Linked DNA regions of Homo sapiens: region 1 is linked to region 2. The links are contacts of gene promoters, found by promoter capture Hi-C in human tissues and cell types (Jung and others, 2019). All regions are on one chromosome and are shown on one strand. Each heading gives the region's core, a stretch centred on a gene start or on the middle of the fragment in contact. The rest is flanking DNA. Distances are from core to core; before and after follow the strand shown. Region 1 holds the start of SRRM2 (serine/arginine repetitive matrix 2). Region 2 holds the start of MAPK8IP3 (mitogen-activated protein kinase 8 interacting protein 3).

What was found. The method cuts DNA at HindIII sites, captures the fragments that hold promoters and counts their contacts. A contact is called where the count stands out against the background at its distance.
Region 1: a contact is called between the fragment with the promoter of SRRM2 here and the fragment with the promoter of MAPK8IP3 in region 2, in 1 of the 25 tissues and cell types used here (lymphoblastoid cells).

What each region holds. Positions count from the first base shown.
Region 1 is chr16:2,747,738-2,754,350 of GRCh38, reverse strand. SRRM2 (serine/arginine repetitive matrix 2) reads right to left here and starts at 1,713. Exons shown (of 15, transcript NM_016333.4): 1 at 1,505-1,713. SRRM2-AS1 (SRRM2 antisense RNA 1) reads left to right here and starts at 1,751. Exons shown (of 6, transcript NR_027275.1): 1 at 1,751-1,909; 2 at 4,692-4,806. RefSeq lists enhancers at 305-1,147, 1,148-1,990, 1,872-2,161, 2,222-2,391, 1,991-2,833 and silencers at 1,302-1,361, 1,382-1,691. The HindIII fragment of the contact is 13,386 bases long and covers 1-6,613 here.
Region 2 is chr16:1,703,721-1,710,781 of GRCh38, reverse strand. It overlaps MAPK8IP3 (mitogen-activated protein kinase 8 interacting protein 3), which reads right to left and starts at 4,587. Exons shown (of 32, transcript NM_001318852.2): 1 at 4,125-4,587. The coding sequence starts at 4,442. RefSeq lists silencers at 4,044-4,093, 4,114-4,223, 4,494-4,833, 5,740-6,034 and an enhancer at 4,392-5,256. The HindIII fragment of the contact is 16,634 bases long and covers 1-7,061 here.

The DNA of each region.
Region 1 (6,613 bases), core at 464-2,963, 1.0 Mb before region 2:
ACTGCACTCCGGCCTGCCAACAGAGCTAGACTCCGTCTCGGAAAAAAAAAAAAAAGAAAAACCAGTAGGTGCTAAGCAAAGGATATTAGGTCACAATGTTTCGGAGAACTTTTAGGGAATGAGCCACCTAGTCCACCCCACAAAAAAAGACGACGACCCCACGGCATCTAAGGGGTGTGTTAAGACACAGAAAGTAGGAAGATCAACACCACACACAAATCACCAAACCAAACGATATTACAAAACTCTTAAAGTGGGGGCCATAGACAGTGGATATGCAAAAGTTACCCAAGTTAAAAGCAGAAAGTAAAAAGTACAAAGGAAGACAAAAACACCCTTTTCTGTTGGGAAATTATCCGAGTGGTAAGCTAACAATGAAGTAGAAAGATATATTTGAATTCAACAGTAAAATATGCAAAAAAGAAAACGGTACCAAAAGGGGAGAAAAAGGGGAGACAAGGGTTGTCGAAAAAAATGGACATCAGCAAGCACAGCCAGCTCAGCACCGGGGCGCTCCAGAGCGGCTGAGTGGACACAAAGAACCCAGAAAGCTAAAATAGTAGCTTTAGAAGAGCCCTAAGCCCACGCACTTAGGATGAAAGACAACACAACACTCTGAAATTCTGATCCAGATTCGTCCTAACTGAAGCCGAGTGGAAACCAAGCTTCAGAAGAGCTGTGTGCCAAAGAACGCCTGAAACCAACCAGAAAACTTATATATGAGTCTGGCGTTTTCTTCCCAACGAAGGTCTCCAAAAGCCTCCTTAGTTTGAACACGAATTCTCGGGAGACGTTGAAAAAGTGTAAAAAGGGAACGCACGGTCTACCTTACAAATGTAAACTGAACACGTTCACTTTCTTCACAGTTTTTAAGATTTGGGGTTTCTCCCCGCCACTAACAACTCAAAGGCTGATAGCCGGGAATCCTAAACCATTTAAATCCGGCCCACGAAGTTCAAGGCCCTCCCCGCAGCGCCGGGGGCCTATTTTCGGCCTTGCGGAATGGGGGAGGGGGCTGCGCGGCGTCCCGCAGTCTGGGAGGCCCCCGACACGGGCAGCCCAACGCCGAAGAGAAGCCCGAGGAAAGGAGATCTGGAACCGGGGGCAAGGGTCCAGGAGCAAGCCCCCCGCCGCCGCCCCTTCCCCGCCACTTAAGGGCCGAAAACGGCAGCTGCAGGAAGGCCACCTCGGCGGCACATGTTGGGGGGAGGAGTGAAGCCGAGGCGCGCGCCCTCCCCCCTCACCAAGGGCGCTCGCGAACCCGAGTACAGGCGGCTGCGAACGCCGTTGTCATGGGGGAGGGGCGGGGGGGGGTGAAGCCCGCGCGCGACAGGAACGGCGGGAAGGGGGAAGGGAGGCGAGGGCGTCCGCGCCAGCGAAGGGCGTCGAGCGCGCGTGCGCGCGGAGGAGCTCGGCGGCCTGGGCAGTTCTCCGCGCGCTTTGGCCTCGCGCCGGGGCCGCCGCCCCTCCCCCACCCGGCTCGCTGGCTCCCTCACCCTCTCACCCGCCGCCTCCGCCCGCCGCCTCCGAGGGGGAGAGGTCTTGCCGCCGCCGCTGCTCGAGCTCCCGAGTCCCTCGGGCCTGGGGCCGCCGCCTCGCCTCGCCGGTCCGCCCGCCTCAGCCGACGCCGACGCCTCCTCGCTTCCTCAGGGGCCGCAACGGGCTCCAACTGCGCCACTCGCACCCCGCCTGGGCCGCGCTGCACGTCAGCACGACTAACTGCGTGCGTCAGCACGCAAACGCGCGTCGCGGGGCCTGCCGGGAACTGGAGTGCGCCCCGCGGCCTTTTGCGCAGGCGCCGAAGCCACACCGCGAAGTACCGTTTTTTCAGGCACAAGGAAGGTTTCACCCCGTTGCCGAAAGACTAAGCGTCCCGTTGGCCAGTGCAACGAAGAACGGAGGAAGCGACGTAAGACACCGCGTATTCGTAGGCCTTCCGCTGCGGGGAGGAGCACAGGGCCTAGCGGCAGCAAAGCGACGCCCGAGCGCGTCTCGTCTCCCGCTGTCGATGCAGAGCATTCTGGGAGTTGTGGTTCGGGCGTGTCGCGGAGCCCGGATGTAATTTCGGCTCGGGGCGTGGCGGCCATTTTGTCTCCCCATGTTGGGAGACGATATCCCAGCCGCGGTGGTGCTGCCGCTTTCGTGTGACTTTGGGTTTCCCGAGCGAGCCCGCAGCTGCACAGCAGTCCGCCTTCCCGTACCCGAGAGAAGCCGCCTCAGACCCCAGCCAGCGGGCACCCCCGGAGGCCCCGAGCCTGGCTGCAGGCCCTAGACCTGCACCAGGGGCCCAACCAGTTACCCGTAGCATGGGCCACGTTCTCCCGCTGTAGACCGGGCTGAGGCCCGACGGCCACCCCTGGGGGAGGAGTTTTCTTAGCTTCCGGTAGGGCAGCCAGGCCGGGGTCCCACCAGACCCAGGACGTGATACCGGTGAAGCGGCACATACAGGAACAAGGCAGGAGGAAAATAATAAGCACCTTAAAGTTTCCACTTTTCGGTACCGTACTTCCTGTTAATGTTTCTAAGCCCGTGATTCTGGGCCTGATAATCAGCCAGCCGTCCTCACAGCAGAGTTGTAAGACGCTGGGCTGCTCAAGCACAAGTTCATATCTAGACCCACCGCTGGCGAGCAGCCCTGGACGTCCCGCTTAGCTGTCCTAACCAACTCAGGTGGCCTTGATCCGCAACAGGACGCGGTACCACGTAATGAACTGTCCATTTGAGTGCAAGGATTTATATTTGTTATTACGATTTGGGGGTGTTTTTAAGAGGCAGGGTTTTGCCCAGGCTGTTCTCGAATTTGGGGCTCAAGCGATCCTCCGACCTCAGCCTCCCAAGTAGCTGGGACTACCCGTGCATGACACCCTATCTGGCCCTTGTTTTTTGTTGTTGTTGTTGTTCTTTCTTTTTTCACGTGGTTTCGCACTTGTCACCCAGGCTGGAGTGCAATGGTGTGTTGTCGGCTCACTGCAACCTGTCTCTCAGGTTGAAGTGATTCTCGTGTCTCAGTCTTCCGAGTAGCTGGGATTACAGGCGTGTGCCACCACGCCTGGCTAATTTTTGTATTTTTAGTAAAGACGGGGCTTCACTATATTGGTCAGGCTGGTCTCGATTTCCTGACCTCAGGTGATCTGCCCACCTCAGCCTCCCAAAGTGCTGATATTACAGGCGTGAGCCACCACGCCCGGCCCGTATCCGGCTTTAAGATTTGTTTTTCACTTGCCCGTGGGAGGATGTACTTATCTCAGATGCTAGAGCCGGGAGACCCTCCCCCCCACCACCCCCATCTCCTGCAGGAGCTCTGATCGCAGATTGGAGTGTCTGAACTCTGCATCTATGGACGGTGCTTCTGTAAGCCGGCCGCAACTCTGGAGTGGCATAGTAAAGTGGCAAAGGCTTTGCCTTTCTGGTTAAAGACCCCAGCACCTCCAGTGAGACCCTTTCCTGTACCCCCACTGATATTCTTTATGGAATGTTTTGTGCGTGAGTCAGCACATTTAATGCCCGTGAATAGTGACAAAACATGGTTTGCAGTACCCTAATGACTGATGATGCTGAGAATCTTTTGATGTGCTTGTTGGCCGTTTGTACATCTTTGGAGAAATTTCTCTTCGTGTCTTTTGTCTATTTTATTTTTTTGGGACAGAGTCTCACTCCTAACCCCGGGCTGGAGTGCAGTGGCACGATCTCCACGCACTACAATTCTTGTACCTCAGCCTCCCAAGTAGCTGGGATTACAGGCGCACGCCACCACCCAGCTCATTTTTTTATTTTTAGTAGAGGTGGAGTTTTTTGTAGAGATTGTGTCTCCCTGTGTTGCCCAGGCTGGTCTTGAACTCCTGGGCTCAAACTGTCCTCCCCCCTTAACCTCCCAAAGTGCTGGGATTACAGGTGTGAGCCATGGCACCCAGCCCTAGAATGATTTTTTAGTTTCCCTTTAAACTTTATTTTTTTATTCACTGTAGTGTGGTGGACGGTGGTGCCCCAAAACTTCACAACCACCTAGACATTCGGAAGGTGACCTTATTTGGAATAAGAGATTTTGCAGATGTAATTGAGTTAAAGATCTGAAGATGAAATCATCATGAATTTAGGGTAGGCCGTAAATCCAATGACTGACATCCTTACAAGAAGACAAGAGGACACAGGCACCCGGGGGAAGAGGCCGTAGGAGACCCAGGCAGAGATTCGGAGCGGTGCCCATGCCAGGGATCTCCAGGAGGAGCCAGAAGCTGGGAGAGGCCCTGCAGATCCTCTCCCAGAGCCTTTGGAGGAGGCACAACCCTGTCCACACCTTGGTCTCCACTTTCTGGCCTCCAGAGCTGTAGGGGAACCCACTTCTGTGGTTTGAAGCCACCAAGTTCGTGGTGACTTATGGCAGCCCTAGGAAAGTGACATGCACAGGTAAACCACATTCACTGCAGGAAATATACAAATCAGCAAAAAGAAAAAAAGCACACAGGGGCACCACCCCCAGAGACAGCCATGGCTGACATCCTAGCGGCTGTCACCTCGGAGTGATGTTCCTAAAATGCAAACTTCTGAACTGCTTAAAACTCTTCCAGACACCCTCAGGTTGACATCACAACTCCTTTGTTGGGCCTTCCAAGGCTGGTCCTTCCCGTGGCCTCTTTTCCCTCCGCTCTGTGACAGTCCATGACGGGCACACTTGCCTATGCTTGTTCTCCCAGGCAGTGGCCTTGTGTGGGCCTTCAGCTTCCAGTTCCATGGCCTGGTGGAGGACCCTGTGGTGCAAGCCTTCCTCCAGACCCCCCTGGCCTGGGGCCCAAGACTGGGAAGCCTTTGGTGAGTGGAGCACCTCCCATTTGCACACTGGCTTCCTGGAGCTTACATTACAAATAACTAGACAATTACCAGCCAGGACAGGTGCTAGGGAGGATGGGAACAGGGTAGGGGGGTGAGGATGATGTCTGCAAAAGCATCCTGCCCTCCAGAGGGAGACCAGACCTTCAGGAAGGACAATCCCTGGGGTTAATGCCATAGCCTCCCACCTCCCAGCTGCCTGGGAGGGTTTCTCGAATTACCTTTTTATCTGGAGACCCCAGCCCCCATCCAACCCCTCCCACAGGGCTGCAAGCAGGGTCTCTTGAGAGGCCTTCTGGCTTCCAGGCCCCATGTGTGCTCCCAGCCTTCTGGGCAGGATGGACTGAGGCTGGTCCTCAGCGCAGGCATGGTGGGGCACACGGCAAGCAGAACAAGTGCCTGGGCCCTCTCTGTGCAGTACCCAGACCCCAAAAGTACTTGGCTCTGAACCTCTGAAACATGCCCTGGTTCCTGTACCCAGGACAAGCAGATATGAAACACTGGAAATGAGTGCCGGGAGGAATGGCCTTCCACGTGCAGCTGGCATGGCCCATGTCCAAGCCACTTCAGCGGCTCTTTCTGGCCTTGGTGTAGCACATCTGGTGAGGTCGATACTGTCCAGCCACCCCTTTCTTTTCTGGAGGGGGAGGAGGGATATTCTTTGTGATGTAAGGGTTTAGAGAGCTTTTAAAGCACTAATTGGGGCCAGGTGTGGTGGCTCACACCTGTAATCCCAGCACTTTGGGATGCTTGAGGCCCAGGAGTTCAAGACCAGCCCTGGGCAACATAGTGAGACTCCCCCCACCACCTCCCATTTCTGAAAAACAAACAGAGAAAAGCACTCATTTTATTTTCTTTCTTTTTTTTTTTTTTTTTGAGACGGAGTCTCGCTCCTTCGCCCAGGCTGGAGTGCAGTGGCGCGATCTCGGCTCACTGCCAGCTCCGCCACCCAGGTTCATGCCATTCTCCTGCCTCAGCCTTCCGAGTAGCTGGGACTACAGGCGCCCGCCACCATGCCCGGCTAATTTTTTGTATTTTTAGTAGAGAGGGGGTTTCGCCGTGTTAGCCAGGATGGTCTCGATCTCCTGATGTCGTGATCCGCCCGCCTCAGCCGCCCAAAGTGCTGGGATTACAGGCGTGAGCCATCGCGCCCGGCCAAGCACCATTTTATTTTCTTAAGATTCCTAGTCTCTTTGAAAGAGGTTACAGTCATAAATTTACAAAGTTTCTTTTTTGTTGTTGTTGTTTTTTGGGAAGGAGTCTCGCTCTGTCACCCAGGCTGGAGTGCAGTGGTGCTATCTTGGCTCACTGCAAGCTCCGCCTCCCAGGTTCATGCCATTCTCCTGCCTCAGCCTCCCAAGTAGCTGGGACTACAGGCACCCGCCACCACGCCCTGCTAATTTTTTGTGTTTTTTTAGTAGAGACAGGGTTTCACTGTGTTAGCCAGGATGGTCTCCGTGTCCTGACCTCATGATCCACCCGCCTTGGCCTCCCAAAGTGAAATTTACAGAATTTCAAAGCCTAGCACAATGGCACACCCGTGATCCCAGCTGCTTGGGAGGCTGAGGCTGGAGAATCACTTGATTGAGCCCATGAGTTCGAGACCAGCCTAGGCAACATAGCAAAACCCCATCACTACAAAAAGTAAGTAAATTATGAAAATCCAATTGAATTATGACTGCCAAGCTTGACGCTTTTGTATTTAAAAGTACTTCTTTAAAAAAAAACACATAAGGCCGGGCGCGGTGGCTCACGCCTGTAATCCCAGCACTTTGGGAGGCCGAGGCGG
Region 2 (7,061 bases), core at 3,338-5,837:
AAAACTGTTCTTAATATCATAACATGGCAGGAAAAGAAATCGCATACTCTGGCCAAGCAGTGGTGGATTTACTATTTGTCATATGAAAAACAAAAATAAAAATTTCTGATTCAGCATCTTAATTCATTGATGGAAAAGACTTCCTGCAGATCGTCTGGCGCAGAGGAGAAAAAAAGAAGGAAAAATGGCAGACTGATCATCTCTGTAGAGCGGGATTATGGTGTTTGTTTTCTCCAGCTGAATCCTACCCAAATAGTCTATGAAATGGATGACATTTATTTATTTATTTTTATCTATTTATTTATTTTGAGACAGAGTCTCACTCTTGTTGCCCAGGCTGGAGTGCAGTGGTATGATCTTGGTTCACCACAACATCTGCCTCCTGGGTTCAAGTGATTCTCCTGCCTCAGCCTCCCGAGTGCTGGGACTACAGGGGCCTGCCGCCACACCTGGCTAATTTTTTTTTCTTTTTTTTTTCTTTAGTAGAGACAGGGTTTCGCCAGGTTCGCCAGGCTGGTCTCAAACTCCTGACCTGAGATGAGGAGGTCAGGAGTTCAATGTCAAATGTTGGGAGGCTGAGGTGGGAGGATTGCTTGAGTCCAGGAGTTTGAGACCAGCCTGGGCAACATAGCGTGACCTCATCTCTCGCCTGCCTCAGCCTCCCAAAGTGCTGGGATTACACATGTGAGAGTCGCTGCGCCTGGCCGGTAACTTTTATTTAACTCGGAAAAAATAAGTTTTGGATAAAACTGTCTTCCCTTGCATCCTTTCCTTACATAGCATCAAATGCCGAATGATCAGCAAACATCACCATCTGGGCTTGTTGAGAGAACACCCACTCCAGCTGCCTGCCATGAGCCTGGGGGGTGTTACCAGCAGCAGTTTCTTTAGGGTTAAGAAGATTTTAAGGCAAATAATGACCACTAATATTCACATGTCATCTCTCACACCTTATTTTTCCTCTTGTAAGCTAAGCAGTTGATCACTATGGGAGAAGGGCTCTTTGCTGCCCGGGTAAGCCCGGCAAACGTGGTGGCTCTGCCCGGCCCTCCTCTGGAGCTGCACCGGACGGTGCGTGTGGAGGCAGCATCTGCTCCTTGCCAGCCCCCACCCCGTTCAGCTGCTGTTTCCCACCTTCTTCTTTTCCACTGGGAAATAACTTGAGGGTTTTAAAAAACTTTGTATCAGAGCCTGCACAACCAGAAACTGCACTGTCTGGTAGGCGGCTAGCAATGTCCGGTGCCTGCCGTCCACGGCGGCCCTGAGAACCCGTCAAGGGTTCTGCCCTGACTCTGCTACATCTGCCTGCCCACAATTCTCCAGGCAACCAACAGCCAGTGATGGTGCTTGGATCTTGAGATGAAACTGACTTGCAAAGTCCGCGGCCACTGCAGCCCAGCGAGGGGAAGAGGATGGACCCAGGGTGTGTGGCTCCTGAGGGCCGGGCTGACACTCAGGCTGGGGTCTGCAGACTCCACGGCTTGGGTCAGTCTCTCGGGAGACCCCACCCTCTCTAGCTCCTGTCACTCTCATACACTCAGCTGCCTGTTATCAGAGCACATTGGGAGTCACTGTGGTAATGACCGGCAAGAAGATGGGAACAGGGATGTCTGCTCTGCTCAGGTTTTTATAAAACCCTGCGGATTCTGTCTGCTCAGAAGCTGCAGTGGCTCAGGTTACCCATCTCTGACTAAGCCTTCTTGAGCAGAGTGGCTGGGGACGGAGCTTCTGCTGACAGCTCACCCAGGAGCTCCTCTGCAACAAGACACGCCTGCAGCGTGTGACGTCCCGCTCCCCTCTTATCAGACACACGTCTATGTGATCACAAGTCCCTGCCTAGAAAAGACGCCGACCCACAGGGCACAATGGTCTACAAAGTTGGAAATGAAGGTCTGCTTGATTCAGTAGAGGAGTAGGCATGCCAAATGTTGACAGCATCGAGCCCTCTTCCTTAGTTGTAAAGCCCTGAGGTCTTTCCAAGGGCGCCCCGTTAGCGTTTAATCATAGCCTCCATGCTGGCCAAGCATTGGCTGGCTTCGGGGCTCGGCTCCCGAAGCTCTCGGTGCAGCTTCTCTAAAGCGCTGGGGCAATGGTGGGTCTCAGACTAAAGGTGATAGCTTTGCAAACCACACGCACACCCGCCAGCTTGGTTCAGCAGGAGCCCTGGGGGAGGGCAGATGCACTCACAGCAGCTTGCATGTGAACCGCACAGAGCTGGGCAGCGCCTATCCTGTGCACAGCTCATTTTTAAGCGGCAAGGTTATAATTCCTAGCCTTAACGTTGTCCATCTTGATTTTCTCCTTTCAGTTCCTTCTCGTCCACTATACTGACCACACAGGTACAAGGTGAAAAAAAGAAACCCACCTGAAATCCAGGTCAGGCCACTGAGTGTGGGAGAGCAGTGGAGGGCGGTGCCCAGCACAGGGGGCAGCCACAGCTCCACAGCTGAGCGAGGGCAGCCCTGGCACTCCAGGCTTCTGGGGAGCAGCCCTCCGGTGCCTGCAGCTGCCTGACATGGAAGCAAGTGCCCAGGCCGGTGTCGGGTTCACTCTGCATCCTGGCTGGGCACTTCTGGGGTGGGTGACCTTGGTTCAGCCCCTCCACTTCTCAGGACAAGTTTCCTTCCCAGTAAAATGCCTATAGTCACCCTGAGCTCCAAAATCCATGAACCTTTGCGTTCCCTTAGGTTGAGAGCTTTAACTCAGCTTTGCTGGAACCGGGGCATTCCAATCAATGCATAACCACCTCGCGACAGACACGAAGCCCAAACGCAATAGAAACCACAGGAAAGGAGGAATGATACAACATACTGTTATGATTTTTATAAACACGCTTTAAACCAAACTAGGCCATAAATCACCTTGGTTTCAGAAAAAGCCAAAATACTGACACAATCTTTTATTTTCCTATTAAAGTCAAGAATGTGTTAAGCCGAATTAATTGAAAAGGAATTGAAGCTCATTTCCTAAGACACTTCTATTCATAAGTCAAACAGCATTACCTAACTCCTAGAATGAGAGAATTTCTGGGCTTGGAGATCGCCTAGTGCAATTCACTCCTTTGATGGAAAATCGAACCCCAGGCAGGCGACAGGCCAAGGTCACAGAGGCAAAGCAGGGATGGGAACCAGCCTCCCTGAACCTGTTTCTGACAAAGGGCGAGGTTCTGGGCCCACACACAGGCAGGCCGAGCTCAGTATCTGACGGTGAATGAATGAAGCTAAGTGGTGCTCCCCACAGGGCCCGGCTCTTGTAACTGCTTCACAGACAAGCGATTTCCAGGTTATGGAGACATCCTAGCACAGAATTAAACGCTTCAAACTCAGACTGTTAACTCCTCAGAAGCCAGAGTGGAGTTTCTCAGCCCTGGCTACATCAGCTAACAATCTCGCCAAGCAAGGAACCAAGGGGGCAAAGACATCACCTCCAGAAACTCGAGTGTTCCTTCTGCTGACAGAGGAGCAGCCCGCCTGCGGCCTTGTTCTGTGTTTACATCAACCACCCAATTCACCCGTGTCACAGACCTTCAAAATACGGGATTAGGGACAAGGGAAAGGTCTCCAACATCATCCACAGACGGCTGCAGCCCCCTAAGAACACCAAAAGATTCCTTTTCTAGATGGGTTTAGAATGGCAGCCAACAGAGGTAGCACTTGGGGTCGGGAAACGGTTTTGACTGAACACACGCACGAAAGCAAAGGCAATTGTCATGCAGAGGTGGGTGGGGAGGGGAGAGTGAGGCCTGGCTTTGAAGCTGAGCTCCCCGGGGATGACGCCAGGCACATCGGGTTTGGGGCTGAAGATTCAGGGCTGGGGGCACGGAGGAGGGGGCCAGGGCCCAGGCCTGGGCGGAAAAGGGGGTCCCCGGGAGTCGGGGTGGGGTCCCGGGGCAGGCGGGGGAGTGCTCTAGGGAGGTGTCTCACGGCGGGCAGAGGGGGTGGGGAAGTCCCGGGGCGGGGGATATGGGGTCCAGGCGGGTCTCGGGGCGGGGTCTGGGGGTCCAGGGGTCCCGCGGTCCGGGGTGCCGGAGCGGGGTCTGGGGTCGGGACGGGTGTTGGGTCCGGGGCCCGGGGCTGGCTGGGGGTCCGGGACGGGGATGCGGGCGGGTCCCGCGGCCCACGCACCTCCTCCGCCTGCCTGCGCAGCGCCTTCTCACGCTCGTACTGGGTGAGCAGCTGCTCGTTGTCCTCGCGCAGCAGCTCCAGCTCCACCTCGTGCTCCTGGTTCTCGCTGAGCACCGAGTCTAGGTTCTCCAGCACGTTCACCACCAGCGGCATGAGCTCCTTGACCACCTCCTCGTCGTAGCAGTGGATGAGGCGCTCGAACTCGCGGTAGATGGAGCCCGCCAGGCCCGACACCCGCTCCGACATCACCGAGCCGGAGCAGTAGTCGTCCTGGTACACCACCACGCCGCCGCCCTCGTCCATCTGGATCTCCATCATCGCGGCCACCGCCGCCGCCAGCGCGGCTCGCTATCCGGCCGGCGCGCCCGGCCCTCCCCAGCTGCCTCAGGTTCCGCAGGCCGCAGCCCGTCGCCTCCCGCAGCTGCTGTCGCCTCAGGGCTCCGCCGCCGCCGCTGCCGAGGCTGCGCCCGTCACTCACTCACCGGAAGTCCCGCCCTCCAGCCGGAGGGGGCGGTGCCCGCGCGTCCCGCCGCAGCCGCGCCGCCAGGGGGCGCAGGGGCCGTGACGTCAGAGGAAGCCGGGCTTCGGGCCGGAAGCGCGGGTGAGCCGGGCAGAGGGAGCTCCCGGCCAGGCCGGTGGGATCCGCGGGGCGGCAGTGGTCGCTTCCCCCAGCGCGCTGTAGCTTGATCATGTCCCCGCAACCGTGGGCTTCCGGTGACCTCGATCCCGTCTCCAGGCTCTGCACACTTCGGCGGACTTAGGTGAAGGCTCAGCGCCTGCGCCTCAATCCCGGCCGCCCTGATGAGCCTCCGTTCCCTACAGCACCGCGCCCCGCTCAGTGCCTCCCCTCTCCTGATGCCTTCCCCGCTCAGCTGGCTCCTCCCGGGATTCTGTGAATGCACCCTCAACGCCCATCTCATCCTGAAACCCAGCAGCGTGGCCTCCTTCCTTTCGCCCACTTCTCCCTACTGCACTGACTGCTTCAGATTTTCTTTTTTTTTTTTTTTTTTGAGATGGAGTCTTGCTCTGTCGCCCAGGCTGGAGTGCGGTGGCGCGATCCTGGCTCACTGCAAGCTCCGCCTTCTGGGTTCAAGTGATTCTTCTCCCTCAGCCTCCGGAGTAGCTGGGATTACAGACCAGCTAATTTTGTATTTTTAGTAGAGACGGGGTTTCGCCATGTTGGCCAGGCTGGTCTCAAATTTCTGATCTCAAGTGATCCGCCCGCCTCGACCTCCCAGAGTGCTGGGATGACAGGCGTGAGCCACCGCGCCAGTCCAGATTTTCGGTTACTTTTCAGCTACGTGCAATCTGTTTAACCCATCCACTGGGTTATTAATTGCACCGATTTTTTTTTTTTTGAGACGGTGTTTCGCTCTTGTCGCCCAGGCTGGAGTGTGATGGCGCGATCTCGGCTCACTGCAACCTTCGCCTCCTGGGTCCAAGCGATTCTCCTGCCTCAGCCTCCTGAGTAGCTGGGACTACAGACACGCGCTATTAACGCCCGGCTCATTTTTTTGTATTTTTAGTAGAGACGGGGTTTCACCATGTTGGCCAGGCTGGTCTTGAACTGCTGACCTCAAGTGATCCACCCGCCTCCCTCGGCGTCCCAAAGTGCTGGGATTACAGGCGTGAGCCACTGCACCCTGCCAATGATTCTGTTTTTGTCCTATTTGATTTCTTATATTCTAGCAGTTTTAATAGGCTCTTATACTTCCAACCACATATTTATCTTTAAGCGTTGGGTGTGCCTCATAACTACAGTATCTGCAGCCCTTGCAGGTCTGATTCTGCATGTCATCCTGGTTGACTCTTGGCCCAGGGTCCCCTTTCCCCCATTCTGAGCCAGTGTCCCCAGGACTTTTGTCTCTGGAAGTACTTGAGGCCTGAACTTAAAATGTGTTGCTCCGTAAGATTTGCACTTTATTTTGCTGGGCAGGGGACACCATGAACCCAAGACTTTGAAACTCAATTTGGGAGCCACACATGTATTGTGAATCCTGATGAAACCACATCAGTGACTATTTAATGCTAATAGAAATGGCCACTTACCGTCTTTCACCTACTGCAATGCTCATCAGTTCAGATCCTCTCATCCTAATCTGATTGCACCGAAACAGTAACTCCCGTAGCTGACACCCTACTGATTTTTTTTGTTGTTCAGTTTTTAGAGGCAGGGTCTCACCCTGTTGCTCAGGCTGGAGGCACTGGCATGATCAGGGCTCACTTGAACTCTTAGGCTCAAGTGATCCCACCTCAGCCTCCTAAGTAGTTGGGTCTACAGGTGTAAGCCACCACTGCTTGGCCAATTTTAAAAACATTTTTGTAGAGACAGAGGTCTCACTGTTACTCTGGCTGGTCTTGAACTCCTGGCCTCAAGCGATCCTCCCCCTTGGCCTCCCAAAGTGCTTAGATGACAGGTGTGAGCCACCATGCCAGGCTCTATTGTGTTTTTCACATTTTCCACTTGCAACATAATTTGCCGTATACATGTTCAACCATCCCACTAAGAGGTTTCATTCAGCCTCAGATTCCAATTTCCTGGGATCCCAAGTGACTTAATTTTGCCAAATCTCCATTTCTTTTCTTTTCTTTTTTTTTTTTTCCTGAGATGGAGTCTCAGTCTGTGGCCCAGGCTGGAGTGCAGTGGCACCATCTCAGCTCACTGTTACTTCCGCCCCCCGTGTTCAAGCCATTCTCCTGCCTCAGCCTCCCGAGTAGCTGGGACTACAGGCATGTGCTACCACGCCTGGCTAATTTTTGTAATTTTTAGTAGAGATGGGGGTTTCACCATACTGGTCAGGCCGGTCTCAAACTCCTGACCTCAGGTGATCCACCCACCTCAGCCTCCCAGTGTTGGGATTACAGGCATGAGCCACCGTGCCTGGCCCCAAATCTCTGTTTCTAAGCCTGCAAAACAGCCTAAAATATCCAGCCTAT